Regions from separate parts of the Homo sapiens genome. Here all the other regions are linked to region 2. The links are contacts of gene promoters, found by promoter capture Hi-C in human tissues and cell types (Jung and others, 2019). All regions are on one chromosome and are shown on one strand. Each heading gives the region's core, a stretch centred on a gene start or on the middle of the fragment in contact. The rest is flanking DNA. Distances are from core to core; before and after follow the strand shown.

The links. Contacts are between HindIII fragments. The study calls those that stand out against the background at their distance.
Region 1: a contact is called between a fragment that was not itself captured here and the fragment with the promoter of DSCAM in region 2, in 1 of the 25 tissues and cell types used here (H1 embryonic stem cells).
Region 3: a fragment that was not itself captured here is called in contact with the fragment with the promoter of DSCAM in region 2 in 2 of the 25 tissues and cell types used here (dorsolateral prefrontal cortex and heart left ventricle).

What each region holds. Positions count from the first base shown.
Region 1 is chr21:41,048,353-41,051,795 of GRCh38, forward strand. No RefSeq gene overlaps it. Among named protein-coding and RNA genes, the nearest start is that of LINC00323, 98 kb to the right of the region's middle. The HindIII fragment of the contact is 5,495 bases long and covers 1-3,443 here.
Region 2 is chr21:40,845,866-40,849,266 of GRCh38, forward strand. DSCAM (DS cell adhesion molecule) reads right to left here and starts at 1,293. Exons shown (of 33, transcript NM_001389.5): 1 at 754-1,293. The coding sequence starts at 796. The HindIII fragment of the contact is 24,098 bases long and covers 1-3,401 here.
Region 3 is chr21:40,977,520-40,980,502 of GRCh38, forward strand. No RefSeq gene overlaps it. Among named protein-coding and RNA genes, the nearest start is that of DSCAM, 130 kb to the left of the region's middle. The HindIII fragment of the contact is 4,912 bases long and covers 1-2,983 here.

The DNA.
Region 1 (3,443 bases), core at 158-2,657, 200 kb after region 2:
AGCAGGAATGCAATTTGCTTCCTGCATTACCAGCAATAAACAATCCTTTATATCATAATGTAAGATCTAAAAATAGCTCACTTTAAATTTTGAGCCCTTGTACATAATGAAAGGAGGCTGTGCATAAAAGCCAGTTATTCATTTATTCTGTACATTAGAGGCTTCAACAGTAAGAGCCCAATTAACAAAAAAGACCAGTGGGAAATTATGCATAATATTTTTTGTTTATTACAAAGAGACTTTATTTTCATATCTCACTGCAAGGAAATTATGTGTGCGACTTGCATAACTCACACATGGCAGTATTCCCTCTGAATTTAGAGTTTTCAAAAATGACCATGTAGAAAGAATTGAGGTGGGAAAATGGTGATTTTAGAAAGACAGTACCACTGTGTCATCAGCAGTGTGAACAGCATTTCCCGTGGCTGTGGCCACTGGTAAGGCCCATAGGCTTGGACAGAGGGGCTATTGTCCTAGCTGTGTCTTCAAAGAAGCTCCAGCATCAGGACTCAGGAATTCTTAGTGTAAATCCTGCTTTAGAAGGGGCCATTTTTCCATAGACTGTCTCATCCATTCCGAGCATGTGACACAAATGACCTCTAATCTTCTTCCATCACGACATCGTACAGATAAAGAAACAGAAGATGAGTGGATTGTGGAGCTAGAGTGCTTGCACTGATTTGTTATGACAACCTTGAGGCCCAAAGTCCTCTTCTGCTGAATGAGATGGGATAAAAAGATTATCTTTAAGGTACCTGAAGCTTTGCTGCTGTATGACCACTAATTCTCAAGGGAACTGGGGACATTCCCAGGATGTCGAGTAACAAAGAAGAAATAACAGCGGTCACATTTGCTCCTCATTCGAGATTCTAGTTGAATTGTTCTTCCTAACTTCCCATGTCCATGACATAGGATAATTTGTGATGTTGCTGAGACCTGTTTTGATGCCAGGTAGGAAGCTGGCATGTTGGAGCAAATCATTTGCCTGAGAATAAGCCTGCTGACCAACCCATATCCCCATTCACAAAAGCCCAGCTGATTCTCTTCTCCACAACACTTATGAGCAGCTCTTGTGAACTGATTAAACTTTTCCTCTTCCTAGAGTAATAAATGACCCAAAAAGCGAGCCACTGGCTAGTGCTAGGTCCTGAACTAAAGAGAAAGAGAGGCAGCCTCAGGAAGCAATAGTTCTTTTTCAAAAAAAAAAAAATTATTTCAATAGCTTTTGGAGTACAAGTAGTTTTTTGCTACATGGATGAATTTTATAGTCGTGAATTCTAAGCTTTCAGAGCACCCCTCACCCAAGTCGTGTACATTGTACCTAATGTGTAGTTTGTTATCCCTGCATCCCCCTCCCACCCTCTCCTTTCTGAGCCTCTGAAGTCCATGATATCATTCTGCATGCCTTTGCATATGCATGGCTTAGCTCCCACTTATAAGTGAGAACTTACAGCTTTTGGTTTTCCACTCCTGTGTCACTTCACTTAGAATAATTGCCTCTAGCTCCATTCAAGTTGCTCTAAGAGGCATTATTTCCTTCCTTTTAATGACTGAGTAATATTCCATGGTGTATATATACTACATTTTCTTCATTCACTCATTAGTCAATGGATACTTGGGTTGGTTCCACATCTTTGCGATTGTGAATTGTGCTGTGATGAACATATGTGTGCAAGAGTCTTTTTCATATCATCACTTATTTTCCTTTGAGTAGACACCCAGCGGTGGGATTGCTGGATTAAAGGGTAGATCTACTTTTAGCTGTTTAAGGAATCTCCATACTGTTTTCCATAAAGGTTGTACTAATTTACATTCCCAGCAGTGTGTGAGCATCCTCTTTTCCCAAAATCGATGCCAACATCTATTGGGTTTTTTTTTGACTTTTTAATAATGGCCATACTTGCAGAAATAAGGTGGTGGTATCTCACTGTCATTTTAATTTGCATTTCCCTGGTGATTAGTGACACTGCACATTTTTTTCATAGTTTTTGTCCCTGGGTGCAAGTGCAGTATGTACTGAAGAGCAAGGTAGGGCCAGGCACGGTCACTCATGCCTGTAGTCCCAGGGCTTTGGAGGCTGAGGCAGGAGGATTGCTTGAGCCCAAGAGTTCAAGGCGGCAGTGAGCTATGATCGTACCACTACACTTGAGCCTGGGCAACAGAATGAGACTCTGTCTGTTAAAGAAAATAAAAAAGTGAAGTGACAATTCAGCAGGGCTTTGTCCTCTGACCGGCCCACCATATATTTTTCCTGGATAAAACCATGTGTAATTGCATAAGAAAATTTTGATATTTATTAAGATCTCAAGACATATCTTTTAAGAATATCAAAGGCCTTTCATATCTACTCAAGTCAAGAGCCATTGATAGAAAGTCCTTTGGCTCAAATACAAAAGAGCATCTTATACTTGAACTGGATAGGAAACCGTAGCTGTGGGGTACTGCAAACCTGTAATCCCAATAGATGTACTAGATCTCCAAGCCCTATGCTAGCAAAAGGCACTGTAAGCCTCTTCCCCTTTGTGCGGTTACAGATAGAAATGTACAGATGCTACATCCCTTGGACAGAGCATGCATCTACCCTCCCACCTTTATTGTGCCTAAATCTGCCAGAAGAATGTTATTTTAGAAAATAAATGTCCAGATCATGAGGGTGTGATAGGATTGGAGTGTTCACACAGAGCATAAGACTCATTGAGGTCATCTTCACAATTATGTAATGTTTGCAGTTGGTTCTTTTAATATCAAGAATGACTACACAGTCCTCCCCAAGTTCTGGCAAGGCTAGGATACGTGATAAATTTCACAGTACACACACATGGCATGGTCACAAGAACAGATAAAAATTCAAGAAGGAAGAGATGAGTCTTTGGCATCACTGCAGTGGGACATTCAGTGGCTCATGGGGGTCTCAAGTCTCTAACAGAGTTGACTGAGCAGGCCCAGTCTCCCATAGGTCCCCAAGTGACTCCGTTCCCAGACCCCTCATCTTCCCAGGCACCAGTCTCTAGGAAGAGGCACATATTGGAGATGCGCAGAGCGAAGCACACTCTTTCAGGTCAGCGATTCCCAACACAACACCCTAGGGGTGAGAAATTAATCCAGACATGGGAAATTAATATGACAACTTTTATTTACTATCATTTTTACTTATCGTACACACATGTAACATATTTGACATGAGTCATATTTCTGACACATTTTACAGTTACATGTATAAAACTATAGAAATATGTGAAAATCAAAAATATTTTCACATATTCAAAAATACGTGAAAATCAAAAAAATTTTGAACCTGTGTACGTATATCAGGACACGTGTTCACAATTTTTTCCAAGAATGCCCTAGATTACCTCCCTTGACCAGGACACTGTATTTCCTTTTTTTTTTTTTAATGTAGCATTTATGTTTCTTTTTTTTTATTTTATTTTATTATACTTTAA
Region 2 (3,401 bases), core at 43-2,542:
TCTGACTCAGTCAAGAGCAATAGCTTTCTAAATACCCAGGAAGAAATCATTTCAAAATATAATATTGGCTGGGCATGAGGAAATGTATGCTATTTACAATATTCACTGATTTCATTTTTACAACTATACAGGTGTTTTTTTTTTTTTAATTTGTCAACATTTCAGATGATGTAATGCTTATCAGTGCATATTTTTACATAAACGACTGTGAGGAGCATGAAGCAGCACGGGGTGCATAGAAGGACAGAACATTCTTAAAGCCCTCCTTGGTGCTGGAGATACATTGTACTAGCATGAAATTACGTGTTTGAAAAATCTCAAAAAGCATTGAATCTGAAGGGAGATGTTCCTCATTGACCCCTCCACTTGCGTGCACTTGGAATGTCACATCCCTTTCCAGGTTGTAATATTCAAAGTGGCAATCTTCCTGTCTCTCCTTCTGTCACCAAACCTGGTTTATTCTGAATGAGGCAGCTCTCTAGTACTGGAGTTAGGCTCTGAGCTGTCACTTGGCTAGGTAAGCGCCTTCCAATGATTACAGAGCAATTTCTCCCGGGCCTCTCCATTGCCACCTCTTCTCCCCCAAAAAATAAATATGATATTTAAAAAATAAATAAAAGCACGAAATTTTAAACACAGATGAAGCGGAAAAAGAAAGAAGACTTTACCCATGCATCCAATGCCACCCCCCACCCCCCCGCCCCCCCGGTCAATGATAAGGAAACGAAATTCATCACAAACCGAAAGGCTCACCATTCGCGAAGCTCTGGAACAAGGAGAGAGCCAGTATCCACATGCCCCTGCCGCTCCCCGGCCTCCCGCGAGCGACGCGCCGGCCTCGCCCCCCGCGCTCCGCCCGGCCCGGCTCCGCTCGCCGCTCGGCACCTGCCCGGGGGCCGCCGCCCGCCCGCCGCCCGCCGCCGCCGCCGCCGCTGCCTAGCCGCCCGGGCACGCGGCGCGGCCGGGCTCCGGAGCGAGGGCTGCGCTCGCCGCGCGCTGCGCTCCTGCACACCTGCTCCCGGGCGCCGCGCCCCACGCTGCGGCCGGAGCCCAGGTGCGCCGTCAGCTCAGTGGGCCCCCGGCAGGTCGGCAGGTGGAGAGAGCCGCAGACGCGGGCGTGAGCTCATCCCGGGCACTCGGCGCCCAGAATGCGCAGCCAGCGGCCTCCCGTGCGCCAGCCCTCACCCTCCGCATCCAGGCAGCAGGCGGGCGGGCAGGCTCATCTTTGCCGTGCTCCGGCCTCAGTCACATGGATCCCTCTGCCAACCTTCCCTGCCTGCGAGCCGGGCGAGTGAAGCCGAGCGCGGAGGCGAGCAGGGACCCCTCCCCTGCCTCTGGCCGCTGGGGCGCTCTGCAGTCTTAAAGCAGCAGCAGAGACGTGCAGCCGAACTGAGGCAGGACCGGGGAGAGCGCAGCCACCGCACAGTCACGCACAGTCATCAGGAGGAATTTCTTAGAGGCTTAAATAATCATTTCAACAGCTGCTTATTTTTAGTTATTTTCCTGCCGGTTGCTAATAAGGGATGGCCGGGGTGACTATTGCGGAAGGTGGCCAGCCACGGAGAGGTGAACATGAAATGCTCGTAGTTTTAATAAAATGTGCAGCTGGATTCCGATTCCGTATTTACTCTCAGAAAAGTCCAGTTCATTTGCTTAGAGGGAAATGCTCCTTCCAAATCCTTGCTGCTACTGTAAAGATCTCTATGATTTCACGGGCTAATTTTTAATTATCTTGAATACATGGTAGAATGCAAACACAAGCACTTCTAATTTTGCTCTCTGAATGGCGCATAAAAAAGCTGATTGAAATTGCTGATAATTTGAGTAATCCCAAACATATAGCCCCTTTCACGTTTCTGTGAAAAGTCAATATGTTAACATTTCCTGAATGTTCTGTATGATTCTTGAAGTCATGATAATATTTAAATTAAAGCTCTCACAAGGGCGTACATCTATCCATCACTTTGCAATATAATGACCGACAGGGCTGGAATGCACCCCAGTGTAGAAGCCAGGATGGAATGCTCACAGTCAGGACAATCAGGACTGAAAAAAAGCATTCGGTGGGGGTCAAGGGAGACATTTTCAAGGGAAATTGAGTAGGCTTTTTCCTAGGCACTAGGTATCCTAACTGGGCTCCATGTCCCCCTCCAAATACAGAAGAATGATGCACATCTCAGACAGCTCACAAAACACAGGAGAAGCAAATGGTGAGGCAGAAACAAAATGGTGCTTTACCAGGGTTGGGCACAAGATGGCCAGGCCCTGTGTACCAGGAAGGGTCAGCTGAGCCGGTGATGCTGCCTGGCTCACCACGGCTCTGCAGCTGCAGGTGATCACGTGCTGCCGCCCACTCAGGCTGCGCAGGCCCAGCCCCCAGTACCACGCACCAGAACCAGCATCCTCTGGCTTTGCAAATGCTGGGTGCTCAGTCCCTGGTCCTTCCCAAATGCAACCCAGGAAGGCAGGGGATGGGCCTGATTCTGTCCCTGCATCTGGCTGGTTGACCTATTCATTAATTCTTACTTGCACACTAGCCACCTGCAAGGGTGCCCAGGCACTGGGGTCAGGGAAACCCAGGGTCGAATTGCAGCTCCTCCACTACCCCGATGTGGGGCTTCTGCATGTGACTCGAGCCTCAATTTCCTCATATGCAGACTGGAAATTATCACAGTTCTTAACTCACAGAGGTGTGAAGATCTTTCCATCCGTTGACAGCACATGGTCACTGTAGTTAGCGATGGCTGTGGTTAACTGTTACTGAGTTTGGGAGCAGGGCTGGAAACATGATTTGTGGGGTCCACTATAAAATGAAAATGGAGAGCTCCTTTCTCAAAATGAAAAAGAAGCACCATAACAAGTGCTAAAACAGAACACTTCCTCCTTTCTTCCTGCCTCTCTCAACCAGTCATGGTGTTTTCTGCTACATGCTGCTCTTCCTTGGGCGTGGGAATGCACCCCTGTACAGACCCCACAGACCTTCCAGGTGACTCAGTGCAGTACAAGAGGCTTCCACTTGCCAGTTGCTTCCCTGCCCTTGGCTGCACCCACATGCTGTGGCCAGCCACAGTTAGGGGGTGGGGAAGCCACTGTCTCTCTCCCACAGCCCACTGTCCCAATGTACAGTGGACAGGAGATCCCTCAGGGATTGCAACCTCCATGCTGGGAAGCTCTGGGTATCTGGATTGGAGGTGGGCACAAGCCTCTGGCCACTTGTGGAATGTGCCCTGGCACTGCCAGCCTGCTGAGGGGATGGTCACTGCGAGGCCTTTCTCTGAACTCCTGCACAGTGCTTGTCCTGCACACATGCCCATACACTCACCAGAGATGGCAGGTGGTGGCAGAACACAGGCTTGCTGTTCCAAAATGATGCAGTTGCCACCCTGTTGGGAAGCAGCAAC
Region 3 (2,983 bases), core at 266-2,765, 130 kb after region 2:
TGCATTATAAGAAGACACTGTCAAGTCTCAGAAAAACCTGGAAGATGCCATAGTCAGGGAGACCCCTCTGGGGCCCAATCACTGTCCCCCACACTTGCATCACAGTCCCCTCAACCTACATCATGTACATGTCGCCATCTTTCTTCTTTTCCTAGAACCCAGGCTTTCTTGCAATACCAGTGCCACACTCCTCCATCTACCAACTCTGCTCCCCAATCTCTGATATCCTAGTGAGTTCATTAGGTCCACATTCTACCACTGCCCCTCTTTCTTAACTTGAAACACCACCTTTTAGCCATGCCTCTACCATCTGCTGCCTGATAATTCCTGTTCCCTGTGCACCACATGACTATCAGATCTATCATTTATGGAATGCCTACCAGGTGCCCAGCATTGTGCTTGGTATTTATCATCACTAATTTATTTATTACTAATTTAATTGCCACCAAAACCTTATGAAAATGGATATTATCCCCATTCTAGACATGAGGAGACTGAAGTTCAGAAAGATTAATGACTTGTTCACACTCATCCATTTGTTGTGGTGCCACCAGGATTTGAATCCAAGTCTGACTCTGGAATCCATGGTCTCTCTACTGCCCCAACACAGCATCCCAGTATGCCTTGAATTTTCTGGAACATTACTGATTTCAAACACTTGTCCCTTAGGACTCCTGAGTGTACACACACATATGTCAGATTATTTATTCTCAATTATGTTTAGAAAAGAGAGTACCTGGCAGGGGACAGTGGCTCATGTCTGTAATCCCAGCACTTTGGGAGGCGGAGGTGGACAGATCACCTGAGGCCAGGAGTTTGAGACCAGCCTGGCCAACATGGTAAGACCCCATCTCTACTAAAAATACAGAAATTAGCTGAGTGTGGAAATGTGTGCCTATAATTCCAGCTACTCGGGAAGCTGAGGCAGAAGAACCTCTTGAACCCAGAAGGCAGAGGTTGCAGTGAGCTGAGATCACGCTACTACACTTCAGTGTGGGAAACAGAGAGACCGTGTCTCAGAAAAGAAAAAAGAAAAGAGAGTGGCCATATCTATGTATAAAACTAGTGACACACAATTATTCTGCCTTTGCTTTAGTGCACACATACACTCAGAAATACGCGTGCATATGTGTAATACATTTCATATTTTGAACAAGCAGATATTTCAACACTAAGGAATCGTAAAAATAAACAAAGGTCTGTTTGCAAAGACTCATACCATTACTGTCATCTGTCTACCTTGCACTACAAACAATTTGAAGTCACATTGATTGTTTTCACAATTTTCTCAAATATTTAACAACTCGCATCCTTGCGGGGGATGTTGAGGAACTAGAGTGGTGTTTTCCGATTTTGTTTTTTTGGTTTTTTGGTGGGTTTGTTTTTTCGGTCTTTTTTTGTTTGTTTGTTTGTTTGTTTTTGTTTTGGTCTAATTGGCATTATATCATGTTGAAACATTTTGAGATTTTTTTGAAGTTAACTTTTTTTTTTCCTTTCATTTCTGAGTTTCACTCCCTTGTTTATCGTTTCCAGCATAATTTTTTTTTGGTATACCTCTAAGTAGTCCTTTGTGAATCTACACTGGATGTTTCCTGTTCTTTGTGTTGTTTCTAAAGAAATTGCAATTTTCTGGGCTCTAATTAAAGTGCCCCACAGGATACTTCAGTTTTCTTCTGCTTCATGTAATATTGTGCAATTTTTTTTTATTGTGCTTTCTGCTCCTCTTTATGGATACTGAATTCTCTTCTACTGTGTTCCCTTAAATGCCCATAAGAACCATAAATGAATGTATGTTTATTATGCCTTTCAAAGTTTGAAATATAAATGTTGGATTTCTACTCTTTTGACATCCAACACTTAACATGTAGTGATGATTGCATATTCCCAGCTAATGTGATGAGTCAATAAAGGAGGATTAGACAGTTCTGCTGATATCTACCACTAGAAATGGTGCATATAGGCAAAGGCCAAAATGAAAGAATTCTAATTTTTCTTATAGAAAAGTAATAATGTCTTCTGCTTCCAGGAAGATGTATTAGGGCATGTCAGACCAATAACACCACTGCAACAATTTTTTTTAAGCTGGATAAATTACACAACCCATATTTTTAAAGGATTGGAAAGCTATAGTGCTATGGTTTGTATATGTCTCTCAGAATTCATTTGTTGAAAACTTAATCCCCATTGTGATTAATGCCATTATAAAAAGTGCTCATGTGAGTGAGTTCCCACTATTGCTCTCTTGCCCTTCCACTTCTGCCAGGTGAGAACACTGCAAGAGGGCCCTTCCCAGATGCCGGCATCCTGTTCTTAGACCATTCTCCAGAACTGTGGGAAATTACATTTCTGTTTTTATTAAATGATCCAGTCTCAGGTATTCTGCTATAGCAGAACAAATGAAATAAGACATATGGAAAAGCCAAAGATTAGAAGAACTAAAGCCCCAGAGACAGAAGAGTTCCTTCTAGTGAGGTAGTCATTGCTGGCTGTTTTCTTCTTTTGGCATTATTTGCCAATTCTGGACATCAGTTAAAGATTAGGCTTATCTCAAACTAAGGGATGCTCTTGGTAGGCTTTGGGAAGTCACATGTGGGTAGAGTGATGGCTTGGAAACTATTGTCATCTCCAAACAATTTCCCCATGAGACTTCTGAGTTCTCTGACAGTGCTGGGAGTGGAAAAACCTAGACACAAACACAGATTAAAATTTTCTGTAATAATCTAGTGATTAAAAGACTAAGTCCCATTACAGGGAGAAGCCCTTCAGCAGACATGAAGCTGGCCTCCCTCTCAAGCTGCCAGCCATATTTGAGCCTACGTGCAGGAAAAATTCAAAGCCTCCAAAGGGCAAAGCATTCGAGTTGAGAAAACAGGTCCCTCAGTCAAACATCTGGGAAAGTCATGCCCAATAAAAGCAGAGCAAAATATCCCACAGAGGGAGGGGGCCTACATAAAAACACATGGCAGGTCTCTCAAGACATTTG